2 separate regions of the Homo sapiens genome follow, and region 1 is linked to region 2. Evidence: promoter capture Hi-C in 16 types of primary human blood cells and fetal thymus (Javierre and others, 2016). All regions are on one chromosome and are shown on one strand. The core of a region is centred on a gene start or on the middle of the fragment in contact, and the rest is flanking DNA. Distances in the headings are between cores, read along the strand shown. Region 1 has its middle 16 kb from the start of SLC1A7. Region 2 holds the start of SCP2 (sterol carrier protein 2).

What was found. Contacts are between HindIII fragments. The CHiCAGO score rates a contact against its expected background, and 5 or more counts as called.
Region 1: a contact is called between a fragment that was not itself captured here and the fragment with the promoter of SCP2 in region 2, in 1 of 17 cell types (endothelial precursors). The highest score is 5.1, in endothelial precursors.

Annotation. Positions count from the first base shown.
Region 1 is chr1:53,155,627-53,161,447 of GRCh38, forward strand. No RefSeq gene overlaps it. Among named protein-coding and RNA genes, the nearest start is that of SLC1A7, 16 kb to the left of the region's middle. The HindIII fragment of the contact is 1,457 bases long and covers 1,754-3,210 here.
Region 2 is chr1:52,924,211-52,930,545 of GRCh38, forward strand. SCP2 (sterol carrier protein 2) reads left to right here and starts at 3,066. Exons shown (of 16, transcript NM_002979.5): 1 at 3,066-3,255. The coding sequence starts at 3,187. It also overlaps the pseudogene LOC100652967. RefSeq lists a silencer at 2,829-3,108 and enhancers at 3,161-3,676, 3,329-3,388, 3,399-3,488. The HindIII fragment of the contact is 6,408 bases long and covers 1,064-6,335 here.

The sequences.
Region 1 (5,821 bases), core at 1,232-3,731, 230 kb after region 2:
AGGCTGCATTCTCAAAGCTTGAAAAGTTAATTGGCCCATCATTTTGGTACAGTAGGTAGCTAGTCAAGCATGAGCAGGGCAGGAGAGGGCTCCCTATACCTCACCACAAATGTCAGGCAACCATCAGGTGATGGTCAGGTGGTTGTTAACTGTCTGTTTAAAATAATAATTGGTTGCAGCTGGTGCCAGGGAAAGGCCGTCTCCCAGTAGATAGAAACACCTGAAACAGGTGGTCAGCTGCTTAATCTCAGGAGTTGGGCAACTGGGCTCAAGCATGCTCACTAAGAGGCAAAATGGTGAGTTTAACTGATACATGACTTTCCAGGGACATTCGGCTGGTAAGGGAAGAATGCCTCAAGTGAGCATGCATACAACTCCAGTGAACACACTGTGCACACTCCCCTCCCAAGGGCTGGCAGGTCACTGTGCACACGGACAGCCCAAGGGAAGAATCAGGGGAGAAGGGACGCAAGGCATGCCAACATGTACAACCCCAAGTCAAAGGTGAAATGGCACACTTGATCACTCAAGTTGCCCAGGTGGCTCTTTCCCAAGTGTACTTTACTTCCTTTCATTCCTGCCCTAAAGCTTTTTAATAAACCTTCACTCCTGCTCTAAAACTTGCCTCAGTCTCTCCCTCTGCCTCGTGCCCCTCGGTCAAATTCTTTCCTCTGAGGACGCAAGAATTGAGGTTGCTACAGACCTGTACAGATTCGCCGTCACTAATAATTTTAGAAAGAAAAAAAGATGAACATGGATTAGGAGGGTCTACATGTGGGAAAAAAATTGCAACTAAGATATTTTAGAGAGCCCACCTCTAGTAACAAAAGAAAAAATAGGCCCGGCACGGTGGCTCACACCTGTAATCCCAGCACTTTGGGAGGCCGAGGCAGGTGGATCCTGAGGCCTCCCCAGAAGCAGATGCTGCCATGCTCCCTGTACAGCCTGCAGAACTGTGAGCCAATTAAACATCTTTTCCTTGTAAATTACCCAGTCTCAGGTATTTCTTCATAGCAGTGAGAGAACAGCTAATACGGTAGCCATCTCTGGGGGGACATCGAGGAGGCTCTCATTCTCCTAGAAGTCTTTCCAATTCATATTATCCTCAGACCATAGTTCATCTCTTCTGTAAGCCACAACTCTGGGCCACCAGGAAACCCAGTACATGTAGTTGTCTGCTTGCCACCGCTCAATTTTTTATTTTTATGCATTATGTATAACTATGTATGTTTCGTAACTTCCCAACATAGGCTTTCCTAATTATCTTTTTGTTCCTTTTATAAACAAGCTTTATTGAGGTATGATTTACATACTGTATAATTTACCCAAAGTGCACACTTCAATCGTTTTTAGTAGGTTTACTGAGTTGTGCAATCATCATGACAGTCCCATTTTAGAACACTTCCACATCCCCAAGAGCCCCTCATGCCCACTTTTAGCCAATCCCCATTCCCATCTCCAACACCAGGCAATCACTAATATGCTTTCCATCTCCATAGATTTGCCTCTTCTGGACATTTTATAAAAATGCAGTCATACAATCTGGGTTCTTTTTTTTCTCATTTTACTCTGCATATGTTCTAGGCTCATCCATGTTTGCAGCATGGATCAGTAGTTACTCCCTCTTACCATTGAATGGTAGGTACTACATTGTATGGATGTACCCCATTTTTTTTTCTACTCACTGATTGATGGACATTTGTACTCACATTTTGGCTTTTATGAATAATGCTGCTATGAACCTTCATGCAAAAGCTTTTCTGTAGACATGTTTCATTTATCTTGAGTAGCTACCTATGAGTCCCATTGCTAGGTTGCTGGATACATTTATGTTTACCTTTTTAAGAAACTGCCAAGCTGTTTTCCAAAGTTTCCGCACCATTTTACCTTCCTGCCACCAATGTATGAGGATTCTGATGTCTCCACAGTGTTGCCCACAGGTATTATTGTCTGTGTTCTTCATTACAGCTGTCCTAATGGCCATGAAGTGGTATCTCATTTTGGTTTTAATTTGCATATTACTAATGACTAATAATGTTGAGCATCTTTTCATGTGCTTATTAATCATTTATATATCTTCTTCAGTGAAGTGTTTACTCAAATCTCTTCCCTATTTTAAAAATTAGGGGCTGGGCGTGGTGGCTCATGCCTTGTAATCCCAACATTTTGGGAGGCCGAGGTGGGTGGATCACGAGGTCAGGAGATCGAGACCATCCTGGCTAACATGGTGAAACCCCATTTTTAATAAAAATACAAAAAATTAGCTGGGCATGGAGGCACGCAGCTGTAGTCCCAGCTACTCAGGAGGCTGAGGCAGGAGAATCGCTTGAACCCGGGAGGCAGAGGTTGCAGTGAGTCGGGATCGCGCCACTGCACTCCAGCCTGGGTGATAGAGCGAGACTCCATCTCAAAAAAAAAAAAATTGGGTTGTCTTCTTCTTACTGCGTTGTAAGAGTTCCATATATTCTGGATATGAAAGCCTTTTTGTTGTTGTTTGTTTTGTGTTTTTGTTTTTTGGAGACAGAGTCTCACTCTGTCACGCAGGCTGGAATGCCAGTCATATGATCATAGTTCACTGAGGCCTCAAATTAGTTCCTGGGCTCAAGCAATCCTCCTGCCTCAGCCTTCCAAGTAACTGGGACTACAGGTGCATGCCACCATGCTTGGCTAAAATCTTTATCAGTGGCCAGGCGCAGTGGTTCACATCTGTAATCCCACACTTTGGCAGGCCGAGACCAGCGGATCACCTGAGGTTAGAAGTTTGAGACCAGCCTGGCCAACATGGTGAAACCCCGTCTGTACTGAAAATGCAAAAATTAGCCAGGTGTGGTGGCAGGCGCATCTAATCCCAGCTACTCAGGACGCTGGGGCAGGAGAATCACTTGAACCTGGGAGGCAGAAGCTGCAGTGAGCGAAGACCATGCCACTGCACTTCAGCCTGGGCAACAGAGCAAGATTCCGTCTCAAAAAACTAAACTAAAATAAAATAAAAAACCTTTATCAGAATTATGATTTGCAAATATTTACTCCCAGCCTGTCGCTTATCTTTCTCATTTACTTAATAGTGACTTTGAAAGTATAAAAGTGTGTAATTTTTATTAACTCCAATTTATTGATTTTTTTCATTTATGAGTTATGCTTTTAATGTTGTATCTGAGAACTCTGCTTAACTGGAGATCACGAAGAGTTTCTCCTATGCTTTCTTCTAAAAGCTTTATAGTTTTATCACTTAAGTTTAGGTCTACAATCCATTTTGAATTAATTTTTGTGTGTTGTATAAGTTAAGGATCCAAATTCACCTTTGTGGTTGGGTGTGATGGCTCACACCTATAATCCTAGCACTTTGGGAGTTGAGGCAGGAAGATGGTTTGAAGTCAGGAGTTTGAGACCAGCCTGGCCAACATAGTAAGACCCCCATCTCTACAAAAAAATTTTCAAAATTTAGCCTGGTGTGGTTGTGCATGCTGGCAGTCCTAACTACTCAGGAGGCTGAAGCAGGAGAGTTCAAGAGTTCAAGGTCATAGTGAGCTATGATCATGCTTGCATTCCAGCGTGGGTGACAGAGTGAAACCTCATCTCAAGCAATCAATCAATCAGCTCATCTTTTTTATGAGGATAACCAATTGTTCCAGCACCATTATTGGAAAACCTTGTGTTATGGTTTGGATAGTTGTCCCCTCCAAATCTCATGTTTGAAATGTGATCCTGAGTGTTAGAGGTGGGCCTAGTGGGAGCAGTCTGGATCATGGGGATGGGCCGCTCATGAATGGCTTGGTGCCATCCTCGCAGTAGAGTGAGTTTTTGCTCTGTTAGTTCACTCAAGAGCTGGTTGGTTTTTGAAAGAGTCTGGTGCCTCCCTTCTTTCTCATTCTTTTGTGCTCTTTCTTGCCATGTGACACACCTGCTCCCCCTCACCTTCTGCCTGGAGTAACAGCTGCCTGAGGCTTCATCAGAAGCTGGGTGGATGCTGGAGCCATGCTTTTATAGCCTGCAGATCCATGAGCCAATTAAACCTTTTTTCTTTATAAATTGCCTAGTCTAAGGTATTCCTTTATAGCAGCACAAAATGGACTAATACACCTTGTTGATTTCTGATAACCCTATTGTGGTCAGAAAATGAGAATATATGATAGTAATCCTTTGAATAGACGTGCTTTATGATACTCAGTTTTCATAAATGCTCCACATGTGCTTGGAAAGACTGTGTATTTTGCAGATGAGTCCAGTGTTATATGCATATCCATTAGATTAAACTTGAGAATCCATTCGTTCAAATCTCCTGTATCTGTGCTCATTTTTTTTTTTTTTTGGTCTACTTGATCTATCAATTGATTGAAACATGTTAAAATCTACCATTCTGAGGCCGGGCACAGTGGCTCACGCCTGTAATCCCAGCACTTTGGGAGGCCGAGGTGGGCGGATCACCTGAGGTTAGAAGTTTGAGACCATCCTGGCTAACACGGTGAAACCCCGTCTCTACTAAAAATACAAAAACAAAATTAGCCGAGCATGGTGGCAGGCACCTGTAATCCCAGCTACTCGGGAGGCTGAGGCGGGAGAATGGCGTGAACTCGGGAGGTGGTGCTTGCAGCGAGCCAAGATCGCGCCACTGCACTCCAACCTGGGCGACAGAGCGAGACTCCGTCTCCAAAAAAAAAAAAGTGTTTGATTAGGTCACCTTCTCCATGATTCCTTCATTAGTAAGTTGTTCCCAGGAGTAATTTGTGAACACTGTGGGGACTTGGCCTCTGCCTTCTCAGAGCTTAGCGTTGAGCAGCAGATAGAAAATGTACCATCAACCTACTTACAAATCTGCAAATGGGCCTGCCTTCCAGAATTTCACTTGTAAATCCATGTTTAGTTATTAGAATAATTTATTCTTTTGGGGGATTAAAAAGTTATACACTCTTCTGTATATTGGATTCTTGGCCCCATTGATGGAAAAAACATTTCTTCCTTTATACATAATTATTTACAGCTACTTATGATGGGGTTGTGGCTCAGAAAATCCATCATGAAGTCAAAGAATGGTTAAGTCAAGCCAACCTATGTTGGGAACCACCTGTATAGTGATATATATTAATATTTATATTGAAAAATCATAGGAGAAAACATGTAGCTCAAAAAAAAATACTACTTTCTTTGTGCCTGACACAGAGTGGATACTACATAAATATATGTATACAAATATTATAGATAAAACTAACTTTCTTTTGGTATCTGTTACCTTCTTTAATTTTCAAAGTTGATGCATAAGGTGGATTATAGGAAGAAAAGGTGGTTGAGGGCCACAGGCAGAGAAGCTGGTTCCCTCCCTCAAGTCCAAGAGGAGAGCTCAGGCCAGAGATTGGAGATGAGGCCAAAGAGGTCTGCTGGACCCTGAACCAGAATGAGAACATCTGAATGACTTCTGAGCAGGGCAGGGGCCCAGGCATCGTGGCTGCCAGTCACATGGGGTGTGGGAAGCCTGGCCTGGGCCAAAGGTCCAGGGCCACAGAGTATTGTCCTATGAAGGCAAGAAGGCCCCTAGCCCTAGGCCCCTCCCTGTTCCCACAGTGGGGTTGTGTACATGCTCACTCGGATTCCACAGGGCAGGGGTCACATAGCTGAGGCCACAAAGCCAGTATGGGGAGAGCCTGGTGCTCCCCCAGCCACCTGACTATTTCCATTCCCTGTGGCTGGTCCACAGGGAACCATGGCATCCTGGTTGCAGGTACCCACCCAGAGAGGAGTGGAGGGGAAAGGAAAAAGGGGTGCCTTTTCCTTGAGGGAAGGGGCCTGGTCATTTGCTTCTGATAGGCCCTGATCAGCCCTGTAATAA
Region 2 (6,335 bases), core at 1,816-4,315:
CCAGCTACTCAGGAGGCTGAGGTGCAAGAATCGCTTGAACCCAGGAGGTGGAGGTTGTAGTGAGCTGAGATCACACCACTGCACTCCAACCTGGGCAACAGAGTGAGATTCTGTCTTAAAAAAAAAAAAGAAGCAAAAACAAAACATACAAACTATAATTGGGTATAAGATTAAAAGAAAAACCTTCCCTCCTCCATATTCCATGCATTTATTGTATTCTATTTTATTGAGACAGGGTCTCACTCTGTTGCCCACATTGGAGTACAGTGGTGCAGTCAGTTCACTACAACCTCAGACTCCTGGGCTCAGGGGATCCTCCCGTCTCAGCCTTCCGAGTAGCTGGGACTACAGGAGTGGGCCACCACACTTGGCTCATTGTTAAATTTTTTGTAGAGACAGAGGTCTCCCTATGTTGCCAGGCTGGTCTCAAACACCTGGCCTCAAGTGATCCTCCCACCTCAGCCTCCCAAAGTGCTGGGATTACAGGTGTGAGCCCCCATGCCTGGCATCCACCCATTTAAAAAGATTTTTCTTGTTTTTTCTTCTTTTTTTTTAGAGATAGGGAGCTATGTTGCCCAGGTTGGTCTTGAATTCTTGGGCTCAATCAATCCTCCCATTTTGGCCTCCCAAAGTGCTGGGATTACAGGCATGAGCCACTGTGCCTCGCTGCTTTTTGTCTTTTTGTATTAACAGAAAAGGTCTCACTATGCTGTCCAGGCTGGAGTGCAGTGGCTATTCACAGGCATAATCGTAGCTCACTGCAGCCTTGAACTCCTGGACTCAAGCAGCCTTTCTGCCTCAGCTCCTCAAGTAGATGGGATTACAGTCTCGTACCACCACACCCAGCTTAAAATGATATTTATTGTATTTTATCTGGCATTTCTGGGTGTTTTTTTTTGGTATACTTATTCATGCCACAAAGTAAGTGGTACTTATATAAGTGTACAGTGATTTTCCAGGTTCCTTTCTAACATAGCTTGCTTAAATTCACAGGTCGACTAATGTTTCATTTCATGTGCATGCTAAGTGAAGCTGGTTAGTGATGACCATAAGCAGGTGGAGAAGCTTTCAATATTTTACTTATTTTATCAGTACTCCTGATTTTATAAATGATGAGGCTCATTAACCCCATTCCTACTCAAATCTCCTGATAAACTTGGTTATAATAGGGCTTCATGGGGATCCAAACATTTTTAATAATGTTTTGAAGCATCTTGGTGTGGGACAAACAGCTCAGGCTACCCCAGAGCCCCACATCCAATGACTTAGAAAAGTCTGTGTTTTATAGTGGGAAAAGTTTGGATTATTTAGTCCTTCACATTGGAAAGGGAAGTGTTTTTTCTCAGTCTTTTCGGTATTAACAAATACCTTTTATATTACTATCTATCCCCTCTGCCCTCTATGGACTCTTATTTTGAAAGCAATATCCAGTGGACAGCCAGGATTTGTTACATAACAATTAATCTTGACCTTAGGACTTGTTGTTCTATTAGGTTGGTAACTTTGTCTGATCCACCAATCATATTGCTGTCTTGTCAGTCCATCAGTTTCAAGAAACAACTGTACATGTCAGTGCCCTGATTTGTGTTTGTTTTTCTTTTTTTTTTTTTTTTGTTTCGTTTTGGTTTTTTAGAGACGTGGTCTTGGTATGTTGCCCAGGCTGGAGTGCAGTGGCTATTCAGAGGTGTAATCATAGCACATTTGTAGCCTTGAATTCCCAGGCTCAAGTGATCTTTCTGCCGAAGCCTCCTGAGCAGATGGGAGGCGTGCATCACTGAGCGCAGCAATTTTACTAAGTTGGTCTAGTCCTAGCTCAGTAGTTCTTTACTTAGCACAGAGGGGGCTTCTTAGAATCTCCTAAACTTGATCTTAGCCAAATGGCCAAGAAGCAATCCTTAGAATCTTCTAGGAGAGCCTTTCTAAATGCTGATACTGCAAACCGAAAAGTATATGAAACGGATCTCAATTAATTTAGAAGTTAATTTTGCCAAGTTTAAGGACGTGCATCATCTTTGGAGACAGGTCCGTGCCTTTCTCCAAAGATGATTTTGAGGGCTTCAGTTTTTATAGGGGAAGGGGCAGATATTGGGGAAAGATGAATAAATTTTAAAAAGATGTGGGTAGATAAGAGGCAAACGGTTGCATTCTTCTGAGTCTTTGATCAACCTTCACATGTGAGGGGGGTAGAGAAATAGTCACTTATGCATTCATCTAGCTCAATGAATCTGCATTTTTACATAAGATAAAATAAACCGGGGAGCCGGGCGCGGTGGCTCACGCCTGTAATCCCAGCACTTTGGGAGGCCAAGGTGGGTAGATCACCTAAGGTCAGGAGTTCCAGACCAGCCTGGCCAACATGGCGAAACCCCATCTCTACTAAAAATACAAAAATTAGCGGGGCGTGGTGGCGCGCGCCTGTAATCCCAGATACTCGGGAGGCTGAGGCAGGAGGATTGCTTGAACCTGGGAGGCGGAGGCTGCAGTGAGCCGAGTTCGCGGCATTGCACTCCAGCCTGGGCGACAGAGCGAGACTCCGGTCTCCAATAAACATGGAAGGCTGTTTCTCCCCGGTTTGCTGGAATAAAGTCTCTGTCTTCCAAATTCCTTTTCGGAGAACTTTTGTTCACAAGATTAAAAAGGTCACGCAGCTGGTGACGGAGCCTGGGTTTTTTGATTTAGACATTGTATCCATGTGTGAGATCCTGCCCATCCCCGCTTTCTTGGTGTCCTGTGAGTTTAAATTCATGAATTCACTCTCAACTGCCACCGCTAACAGGACACAGGCCAATTCCAACACGAACCCCAACGGCTCTCCTCAGGGTCACCTTTCATGAGTCCGCTTTCCGGCCAACCCCTCCTCTCAGTCTTAGGCCCCACTGCAAGCCTACTCCCGCTCACCGTACAGAACCTAAGCACAGGATCAGAGATGGGGACAGGTTGACTCAGTCCCATGCCCAAGTCCGCAAATTAGGGATTCGGCTGCCTAAGGGCTAGAGAACGCTCCCCGCCCCACAGGACGCGCCCCACCCCGCCCCCTCCTCCTGCCCCTACGCACGCGCACTCTCACGCGCCTGTGTTGCCGCCCGCGGCCCTGGCTTCGGGCTTCAGGGAGCTCTGGTGCAGTCTCCGCCTGTCAGTGCCGGCAGTCGTCCGCGGCGCCCGCCCCGGTCCCGCACTGGTGCAGCCATGTCCTCTTCCCCGTGGGAGCCTGCGACCCTGCGCCGGGTGTTCGTGGTGGGGGTTGGCATGACCAAGGTAAACCGAGCAGCGGCCCTGCTGGCCCTCTGAGGCTCGGGGGCGGTCGGTGCCTGGGTTTCTCTGTCCCTCCGGTCTCCTAGCTTCGACTGCTCCGCGCGTGGGTCATCGGCGTGGCGACTTGGTGGCTTGTACTCTGCGGAATCTCTGGGGTCATAGCGTCTCGGGCTGGTTCCTGCGGCCTTCTGCTTCCTCCTTCCCTTTTCTTCTGGTCAGAGTTCATGAAGCAGCCCCGAGATAATCCAAGGATCTCACCTCTTTAGATTCTGAGCGGAGTCCCGAGGTGTGTGGGCTGGCTTGCCCCGGAGGGAGGCAGGTCGCGAATGCCGCCTGCTCGGCCCTCCCAGGAACAGCCCCCACAGGAGCCCTCACAGAGACAGCTCCAGATGTGGATGGCGAGGAGAAACGCTCCTGATGCCCAGCGCCTCGGCCCGAGTGGCAGATTCCGGCCTCCCTCTGTCCCTCCAGTGACTGCTTGGGACCCGGACGCCGCAGGCTCCCACGGCCGTTTTCCCCTCATCGCCCGCATGCTCCTTAATGCCAAACTGCCTTTCGTTTCTCCCCGGACGCAGTTGTCTGATGCCTCTGTTGCTTTGCTTCTGTTCTGTTTGTACCGTGTATCTTCACCTGTTAACTTTTGTGCATCCTGAAAGGATCCGTTCAGATCGGATCTTCTCCAGGACGCCTCGGATCCTCCTGACTTTCCCCTAGAGCCTTGCACTGTGCTTACCTCTGTCCTGCACTTACTGTGCTCGGCAGTACCGGGCAGTACTAAAGCTCATAGGCGTCTGCGCGCCCTCTTAGCATGGCAGCTCCTCTAGACTGGGTACCTGGCTTATTCACTGCTGTGCCCCTCGCCCTGAACGTTCCTGATGCTTGAAGACCCTCAGTGAATGTTAGTTGAACAATACTAAATGGATATGCTTTGTGAAAGAGTTCCTAGGGAGAGTTCTATTTCTGAGAAAACAGCCCTAAAATGTTTATTATTTTACCAGTGGGCTGAGCGTACCTAATTCAGTCCAACATGTAAATAGGCCGGGGCCGGTGGCTCACGCCTGTAATCCCAGCACTTTGGGAGGCCAAGGCGGGTGGATCACCTGAGGTCAAGAGTTCGAGACCAGCCTGGCCAACATGGTGAAACCCCGTCTCTACTAAAAATACGAAAATTAGTCGGGCATGGTAGCACACGCCAGCTACTCGGGAGGCTGAGGTGGGAGGATTGCTTGAGCCTGGGAGATGGAGGTTGCAGTGAGCTGAGATCACGCAACTGCACCCCCAGCCTGGGCCATAGAGTCAGTCCTTGTCTCAACAAAAACAAAAAATATCCATGGAAATGGAAAAGTGGACCAATACCTTATGAAGCGGAAGGACATCATCCTAGTGTTTCACAGAAGGGGAGGCTTCTAACACAGGTGGACAGTAGGATCTTTCGAAGTAAGGTATTAATGCAGTCAAACCTTCCTCTGGCTGCTGAATGCCTGATTATATGTGCTGTATGGAAAAGCACAGTTGTCTAAACCTTTGGGAAATAGATGTATTCCTTTTTCCTCAAGTTGGGAGGTAGAGGTCGGGGAGGTGTTACAGTCCAGAGGAAAGTGGTGAGGAGTTTGGGTAGTGCCATTAATGATGTGCCTATCTGGCCAGTGTACTTTGCTATAGGTCTGGTCTTCTGCACCTTGGGACAGAGTTTGATGGAGGAGGGAGAAATATTGACTAGACAACACTGTAACACTTTTTTTTTTTTTTTTGGAAGACGGAGTTTTGCTCTGTCAACCAGATGGGAAGGCAGTGGTGCAATCATAGCTCACTGCAGCCTTGAACTCCTGGACTCTAGCGATCCTACCGAGTAGCTAGGACTACAGGCATTCTACCATACCTGGCTAATTAAAAAAAAATTTTTTTTGTAGAGACAGGGTCTCACTACTTACTACTAGATGGGTCTCATTTCTACCATATATTACTGTTATAATTTATCATAATACTTTATTTTTATTTTTTGAGACAGAGTCTCACTCTGTCCCCCAGTCTGGAGTGCAGTGGGGCGATCTCAGCTCACTGCAACCTCTGCCTCCCAGGTTCAAGTGATTCTTCTGCTCAGCCTCCCAAGTAGGTGGGATTACAGGTGTGTGCCACCATGCCCAGCTACTTTTTGTATTTTTATTTATTTTATTTTTTGACACAGATTCTTGCTCTGTCGCCCAGGCTGGAATGCAGTGGCGCGATCTTGGCTCACTGCAAGCTCCGCCTCCTGGATTCACGCCATTCTCCTGCCTCAGCCTCCCGAGTAGCTGGGACTACAGGTGCCCACCACCACGTCCGGCTAATTTTTTGTATTTTTTAGTAGAGATGGGGTTTCACCGTGTTAGCCAGGATGGTCTTAACCTCCAGATCTCGTGATCCACCCGCCTCGGACTCCCAAAGTGCTGGGATTACAGGCGTGAGCCACCGCACCTGGCCGTCAACAGGTTTTAACACAACTAAGTCACAGCTGCCGTCTGGCTGACAGCAAGCCTCTTCACTTATGCTGCCTATCTCCTGATATACCCTCTTTTCATCTACTTAAATTCTACTTATCTTTCAAGAACTAGGCTAAGTCCCATACCTTCTTAAAACTTCCTCAGACTACTCTAAGTTACACTGGTCACCTTTTTTGAAATTCTGGTGACCTTATAGTCAGAACATGTAATTTAGCACTTCAGTTTTCTAGTACTTTTATGTATGGTAATTTCATGAAATACATCTTACATCACAATCCAGTACACACATACAAAACTTATTTGTAACAACTGAAACAATTTGTTAAAGCAACGCTTATTACATGTGATGAACTCTTGGTATCCCTAAAGTATATCTTAAAAAAAAAAAAAATTGCTGCTTGGCTGGATGTGGTAGCTCATGCCTGAAATCTCAGTACTTTAGGAGGCTGAGGTGGGTGTATCTCTTGAGCCCAGGGTTTGAGAACAGCCTGGGCGATATTGGCAAAACCCCTTCTCTACTAAAAATAAGAAAAATTAGCTGGGCTTAGTGGCGCACACCTATAGTCCCAACCACTCGGGAGGCTTATCTGGGAGGATCACCTG